Linked DNA regions of Homo sapiens: regions 2 and 3 are each linked to region 1. Evidence: promoter capture Hi-C in human tissues and cell types (Jung and others, 2019). All regions are on one chromosome and are shown on one strand. The core of a region is centred on a gene start or on the middle of the fragment in contact, and the rest is flanking DNA. Distances in the headings are between cores, read along the strand shown.

Evidence for each region. Contacts are between HindIII fragments. The study calls those that stand out against the background at their distance.
Region 2: a fragment that was not itself captured here is called in contact with the fragment with the promoter of KCNIP4 in region 1 in 4 of the 25 tissues and cell types used here (dorsolateral prefrontal cortex, liver, pancreas and 1 more).
Region 3: a contact is called between a fragment that was not itself captured here and the fragment with the promoter of KCNIP4 in region 1, in 3 of the 25 tissues and cell types used here (aorta, dorsolateral prefrontal cortex and mesendoderm cells).

Annotation. Positions count from the first base shown.
Region 1 is chr4:21,947,503-21,950,029 of GRCh38, reverse strand. It overlaps KCNIP4 (potassium voltage-gated channel interacting protein 4), which reads left to right and starts at 1,258. Exons shown (of 9, transcript NM_025221.6): 1 at 1,258-1,459. The coding sequence starts at 1,399. RefSeq lists enhancers at 310-810, 811-1,311. The HindIII fragment of the contact is 8,414 bases long and covers 1-2,527 here.
Region 2 is chr4:21,997,642-22,000,168 of GRCh38, reverse strand. No RefSeq gene overlaps it. Among named protein-coding and RNA genes, the nearest start is that of KCNIP4, 50 kb to the right of the region's middle. The HindIII fragment of the contact is 4,171 bases long and covers 1-2,527 here.
Region 3 is chr4:21,905,581-21,908,107 of GRCh38, reverse strand. All of the region lies in intron 1 of KCNIP4 (potassium voltage-gated channel interacting protein 4), which reads left to right. Among named protein-coding and RNA genes, the nearest start is that of KCNIP4, 42 kb to the left of the region's middle. The HindIII fragment of the contact is 3,286 bases long and covers 1-2,527 here.

The sequences.
Region 1 (2,527 bases), core at 9-2,508:
GGACTAAGTAAATCGCTCGTGCGTTTGGGGGTGGGGAGAAGGGCAATAAGGTGTCAATTGAGACCTACTTGGAGAAAGGGGGAAGATTTCACTTGGTGACAGTGTGTATAAATAATCCAGCAGCCATAGGGAAGGCAAATAGTTTCACAAACACTTAGAAATGGCTTCCACCCAAGTCATGGCCAACTGACCTTGCAGCTGAGAGTGAGAGGGAATTTTAATTCAGTTTGCCTGGAGAACGGGTCAACTTGACCTTTCTTCTGAAAAGAGAGGCTTCATGCACTTGACTCTTGGGGACACAGAAATCTGCATTTTAATTTTGACTTCTCAAACAGTAACCATGGCCACAAGTGGTCTATTGGTTTCTCTTTACCTTCCCAACTATTCCCGGCCTTACTGTGCTTTAGAAGGGCAAATGACCTTGCGGGTGGTGAGCGATACCTCCTGGTTGACCTGCCTGGGAGATCTCAAATGAAACCCCCCACATGGATGCTTCTCCAAAATGCCACCAGTCTATGCCACCCCCTCTCTCCAAGGTGGTATTCTGCACCTCGGCCCTGCGATGTTCACCTGGAGTCTAGAGCCAGTGTTTCCCCACACTTAGCCGAGTCGCATGACCGGTTCTAGCTTCAATGGGGGAAAGTTTCCCGTCTAGGAGTTCTGGCGCTCTGCCCGGCTCCGGAGAAGGGCATCTCCTTGCGCTTCCTCTCTGGTGTCCTTCGAACTCAGCCTAACTTTGTGCAGCAGTATTTCCAGTCTAGCTGTCCAAGTTGGAGCCCCTGGGGGACGCAGCGGCGCGTTGAGAAGGCGCGGCGCCTTCGAGCCCCTCCCCAGAGCAGGCGCTGCTCGCAGTGACAAGGGGTCCTAGAGGCGCCCGCTGAGAGCCGCTGGCAACTCCCGGGGGTGTCCTGCCCAGCCCGAAGTCACCTCGGGTCTCTTTCGGGTCCATCTACTCTGTCGCCAGAGGCACCGTGCCACCCGCGGCGCTTTCCTCTCCCCGCACCCCGCCCCCCGCATCCCCAGTCCGGTGACTTGGCAGCAGGTGGCAGGGGCGGCGCTCACGAGGGCGAGGGGCTGGGGTCCCCGCACTCGAGCCGCCCGTGCAGCCCGCCCGCTTCCAGCCGCCGGCGCGAAGCTGCCGGCGCCTCGGCCTCCCCCGCCACCCCGCGCGCCCCCGCCGCCAAGGGCCGCGCAGCGCCCCCGGCGCCCCCCGCCGGCCTCCGCCCGCACCTGCAGCCCGCTCCGCGCGCCCTGCCCGCAGCCGCCGCCGAAGCTCTCGCTCCCAGCGCCACGGACGCCCCCGGGCCGAGCGGCGGTGCGCTCCCGTGCAGACCCGTGGACAGACGCCCCTGGCCGGTGGACTCTCGAGTCTCGCTTCTGCACCCTGCGTCCCTAGACATGAATGTGAGGAGGGTGGAAAGCATTTCGGCTCAGCTGGAGGAGGCCAGCTCTACAGGCGGTAGGATGCAATAAGCTTGCGAGCGGGCGCCCGCTTCCGCCCTCCTTCCCTCGCGAGCCAAGACGGCTGCCCCTTCCCTTCCTCGGCTGGGGACGCTTGTTGCCTTCGCTGCATGAGACACAGTCACCTGGCGGGACTGGGAAGGGGAGGTGGGAGCGGCAGGAATGGGGTGCAAAGGAGAGGGGGGTGCATGCAAGATCCAGGTCGGGGAAGAAAAGATGTTTGAAGTGTGTTTGAAACTCGCCGGTGGCAGGGTCCCCTGCGATCCTGTGCGTACTTTTGCCTTCTCTGAAAATTTCCGAGGTTGTTTATGCATCTGCCAGATGACTCCAGACCGCACGCTTCCTTCCCCTAACACCTGGGGATTAATGAGCTGAAATAGTATTGATCCTCGCCTTCCACTTTTCCTTCATGCCCCCACACGTTTCTTCATTACAACTGTATTTTTGTCCCCTGGTAATATACTGGCGGCATCTTGCCCATGTCAGATTCTAAAGCAGGAGCGTATGGCTTGTTTTATGGCTAGCTTCAGTTTAGTGTGTTCAGAGAAAATGGTCCTCAGTGACACTTGCAAATAATTTATATACAGTACAGCCTTGTTAAGGTATCGGGCACTGTGTTAGGAGCTTGGCTTTCAGAGAAACGTGCGTTCTGCGAAAGCAGGGAGAAATGTTTTGCTGTTTGGTGGGATCCATAGAGAAATAGGAGACGATGCCCTTCCACAAAGCGTCTTGGGTTGCATCGATTTGTTATTAGGTGGTTTTGATGTGTACAGAGTATTTTACAGGAGCCGGAAAGAGAATGGAAGTGATTTTGGGGCACATGAGAGTGATAAAGGGCTGGACCTCTCCCTGATTACATAAGCTAAGGGGTCACATATGGCTATAGCATAGTTTGGGTTTAGAGGGTGAAAAACTTGGACTCGAGGGCTGTAAACTTGCAAGCAAAGAGGTGTTTCCACTTGCTGCCTTCTTTAGTACTCAGGGAAATGGAGTCACCTCAACAACTTGAGTCAATCATTCGAATTTATGGCCATGAGAAATGGAAATGGACACCCTCCCTTTCTTT
Region 2 (2,527 bases), core at 20-2,519, 50 kb before region 1:
AATCCGTCTGGTCCTGGACTTTTTTTGGTTGGTAAGCTATTAATTATTGCCTCAATTTCATAGCCTGTTATTGCGCTATTCAGGGATTCAACTTCTTCTTGGTTTAGTCTTGGGAGGGTGTATGTTCCAGGAATTGCTTCTAGATTTTCTAGTTTATTTGCATAGAGGTGTTTGTAGTATTCTCTGATGGTAGTTTGTATTTCTGTGGGATCGGTGGTGATATCCCCTTTATCATTTTTTATTGCGTCTATTTGATTCTCCTCTCTTTTCTTCTTTATTAGTCTTGCTAGCAGTCTATCAATTTTGTTGATCCTTTCAAAAAACCAGCTCCTGGATTCACTGATTTTTTTGAAGGGTTTTTTGTGTCTCTATCTCCTTCAGTTCTGCTCTGATCTTAGTTATTTCTTGCCTTCTGCTAGCTTTTGAATGTGTTTGCTCTTGCTTCTCTAGTTCTTTTAATTGTGATGTTAGGGTGTCAATTTTAGATCTTCCCTGCTTTCTCTTGTGGGCATTTAGTGCTATAAATTTCCCTCTACACACTGCTTTATATGTGTCCCAGCGATTCTGGTATGTTGTGTGTTTGTTGTCATTGGTTTCAAAGAACATCTTTATTTCTGCCTTCATTTCATTATGTACTTAGTAGTCATTCAGGAGCAGGTTTTTCAGTTTCCATGTAGTTGAGCGGTTTTGAGTGCGTTTCTTAATCCTGAGTTCTAGTTTGATTGCACTGTGGTCTGAGAGACAGTTTGTTATAATTTCTGTTCTTTTGCATTTGGTGAGGAGTGCTTTACTTCCAACTATGTGGTCAATTTTGGAATTAGTGTGATGTGGTGCTGAGAACAATGTATATTCTGTTGACTTGGGGTGGAGAGTTCTGTAGATGTCTATTAGGTCCACTTGGTGCAGAGCTGAGTTAAATTCCTGGATATCCTTGTTAACTTTCTGTCTTGTTGATATGTCTAATGTTGACAGTGGGGTGTTAAAGTCTCCCGTCATTATTGTGTGGGAGTCTAAGTCTCTTTGTAGGTGTCTAAGGACTTGCTTTATGAATCTGGGAGCTCCTGTATTGGGTGCATATATATTTAGGATAGTTAGCTCTTCTTGTTGAATTGATACTTTTACCATTATGTAGCAGCCTTCTTTTTCTCTTTTGATCTTTGTTGGTTTAAAATCTATTTCATCAGAGACTAGGATTGCAAACCCTACCTTTTTTTGTTTTCCATTGTCTTGGTTGATATTCCTCCATCCCTTTATTTTGAGCCTATTTGTGTCTCTGCACGTGAGATGGGTCTCCTGAATACAGCACACTGATGCGTCTTGACTCTTTATCCAATTTGCCAGTCTGTGTCTTTTAATTGGAGCATTTAGCCCATTTACATTTAAGGTTAATATTGTTATGTGTGAATTTGATCCTGTCATTATGATGTTAGCTGGTTATTTTGTTCGTTAGTTGATGCAATGTCTTCCTAGCATCAATGGTCTTTACAATTTGGCATGTTTTTGCAGTGGCCAGTACCGGTTGTTCCTTTCCATGTTTAGTGCTTCCTTCAGGAGCTCTTTGAGGGCAGGCCTGGTGGTGACAAAATCTCTCAGCATTTGCTTCTCTGTAAAGGATTTTATTTCACCTTCACTTGTGAAGCTTAGTTTGGCTGGATATGAAATTCTTGGTTGAAAATTCTTTCCTTTAAGAATGTTGAATATTGGCCCTCACTGTCTTCTGGCTTGTAGAGTTTCTGCTGAGATATCCGCTGTTAGTCTGATGGGCTTCCCTTTGTGGGTAATCCGACCTTTCTCTCTGGCTGCCCTTAATATTTTTTCCTTCATTTCAACCTTAGTGAATCTGACAATTATGTGTCTTGGAGTTGCTCTTCTCGAGGAGTATCTTTGAGGTGTTCTCTGAATTTCCTGAATTTGAATGTTGGCCTGCCTTGCTAGGTTGGGGAAGTTCTCCTGGATAATATCCTGCAGAGTGTTTTCCAACTTGGTTCCATTCTCCCTGTCACTTTCAGGTACACCAATCAGATGTAGATTTGGTCTTTTCACTTAGTCCCATATTTCTTGGAGGCTTTGTTCATTTCTTTTTACTCTTTTTTCTCTAAACTTCTCTTCTCGCTTCATTTCATTCATTTGATCTTCAATCACTGATACCCTTTCCTCCAGTTGGTCAAATCAGCTACTGAAGCTTGTGCATTCATCATGTAGTTCTCATGCCATGTTTTTCAGCTCCTTCAGGTCATTTAAGGACTTCTCTACATTGGTTATTCTAGTTAGCCATTCATCTAATCTTTTTTCAAGGTTTTTAGCTTCTTTGTGATGGGTTCCAACTTCCTCCTTTAGCTCAGAGAAGTTTGATCGTCTGAAGCCTTCTTCTCTCAACTCCTCAAAGTCATTCTCCATCCAGCTTTGTTCCATTGGTGGTGAGGAGCTGCGTTCCTTTGGAGGAGGAGAGGCGCTGTGATTTTTAGAATTTTCAGCTTTTCTGCTCTGTTTTTTCCCCATCTTTGTGGTTTTATCTACCTTTGGTCTT
Region 3 (2,527 bases), core at 14-2,513, 42 kb after region 1:
TGGAATTCTATTTATTTTTATTATTTTTTATTACAGGCAGAGACTTTTGGAGCAGGAAGGGGCCACAGAGAGAGTAACCTCCCATTTAATGAACAAAAAAAGTTTGCACAAGAGTTAAAATGGTTGACGTAAAGTCCCACACAGTGAATCCAATGTGTTTTTGCCGATTCTTCAACTGTATACCAGATACAATTTAAACTATGTCTTTAAAAATTCTTTTGTTATTATTTTTGGTATTTTTTCTATCATAAACTTGCTTCCTTATTTCCACTGTGAGTATGAAGTTGGGGAGTTAACATTTATAAAACATTATTATTGTGTACTAAGGCAAGCTTTACTCTAAAGAGCAGATGCTTACTTCATACACATGGAAAAAATATTTAAAAATCTGCTTATGTCAAGGGTTGGTGAGGATTGGGGAAACAGGAACACAGAAACACTACTGATTGCAGTGTAATTTATTGAATTCGTTTCAAAGGCAATTGACATCATAAAGCTGAAGAGACACATTCCCCATAAAGTTCATTTCTAAATAAAAATCCTGGAGTTATTTTTACAATTGTGCATAAGAGACGTATATAAGAAAGTACATAATAGTACTTGTCTTCCTCTGTTTTCTGTTTCTGTAACAGAATACCTGAGGCTGGATAATTTGTAGCAATAAAAAGGTTTATTTTGGCTAGTAGTTCTGGAGGCTAGAAAGTCCAAGAACATGGTGGCAGCTTCTGGTGAAGGCTTTCGTACTGCCTCATAACATGGTGGAAAAGCGGAAGACCAAGCTAGTGTGTGTGAAAGAGACAACGTGTGAGGGGCGGCCTTGCTTTATAGCAACCCACTCTTTTCAGTAACGGAGTTAGTCCTGCAAGAGCGAGAACTCATTCACTTACTGCTCTGAGAATTAACCCAGTCCCTCAAGAGTGACATTAATTCCTCTTAATGCCCTAATCACCTCTCAACAACCCACCAGCCAACATTGCCACTCCAAGAACCCCATTTCCAGCACGTGAATTGTGGGGGACACACTCAAAGTATAGCAGTAGTCTTCATCATAATGAGAATGAGAAATACTTTAGTGTCCATCCATAGGAGAGTAAATAAAGGAATTGTGATATACTAAAACATTGAGAGAAACTAAAGCTTCGTGTATCAAAGTGGATAAATCTTAAAAATATTATAGTGAGCTAGAAAAGCAACTTTTAGAAGCTTACATAAAAATATACCTTTTATGTAAAATGTAACATATTCTAAATGATACTGTTTTGCTTTGGATGCATACCTTATTGATGTATGTAAAAAGATGTACACAGGCTTGGTAAATATCACATTTAGATGTTATCAGGGCAGGGTATGCAGATAGCTTTTATAGGTGTGTAAAGATTTTCTTCCTTATGTTGGGCAGTAGATACATGCATTAATTGGTACAGGTTTTGCCTGTTGCAGAAAACTTTTTCTATAAAAGGCCAGAGTATTAATGTCCTGGGACCACTGTAATAAATTACCCTGAACTTTGTGGCTTCTAACAGACAGAAATTTATTCTCTCACAGTTCTGGAAGCCAAAAGTCCAAAATCAAGGTGCCAGCATGGGCTCTGAAGGGCCAGGATCCTCCCTGGCAGGCTGTGGGGGAGAACACTTCCTTGCCTCTTCCAGAGTCTGGTGGCTGCCAACATGTCTTGACATTCCTTGGCTTGTGGCTACATCACGCCAATCTCTGCTTCTATCTTCACGTTCGCTTTTCCTCCTCTGAGTGTGTCTAATCTCCCTCTACCTGTCTTAGACAAGGACACTTTTGCTGTAATTTGGGGCTTACCCAGATACACCAGAATGATCTCACCTCAGGATCCTTAACTTATTTATTACACCTGCAAAGACTCTTCCCAAATAAGGTAACACTCACAAGTTAGAACATAGCAATGACTTTGGGAGTCATTATCACATTACCACAACTAGGTAGTAAATATTTTAGGATTTGTGGGTCATATAGTTTCTGCCACTTAACATTGCCACTGTAGCCTGAAACACTCATAGATGAATGAAACAAATGAATGTAGCTGTGTTTCAATAACACTTTATTTGGAAAAGAGATGAGGGCCTGGATTTGACTGGGAGTGAGTGGCTGCTGAAGTTTGCAGTCCTGTGGTCTATGCAAACAAGTGTTACGTGTGGCAAGTCAGTGGGATCTATTGGGACATTACTGATGGCTCACTACTAATGTCACACTCTAATGCCCATGGGGTGAGTCTGATGCAGTCAACTTACATATAGATGTAAGTTTTGTTTTTATAATACACTTCTAACTTTCAGAGAAAGTCAGGAATCTACTAACAGCATCCTAAATTGTGAACTCATTTATTTGTGACACCTGCACTTTTGAAGCGTACACAGAAGATGTGCACACATGCTGGTCACATGGTAGATTTGGCAGAAGGCTTTTTGAAAGAAAGGAGAGCCCGAAGGAAGTGATAGCCTATGAGTGAGAACATCCGGTGTTTGGTTTTTTGTCCTTGCGATAGTTTGCTGAGAATGAT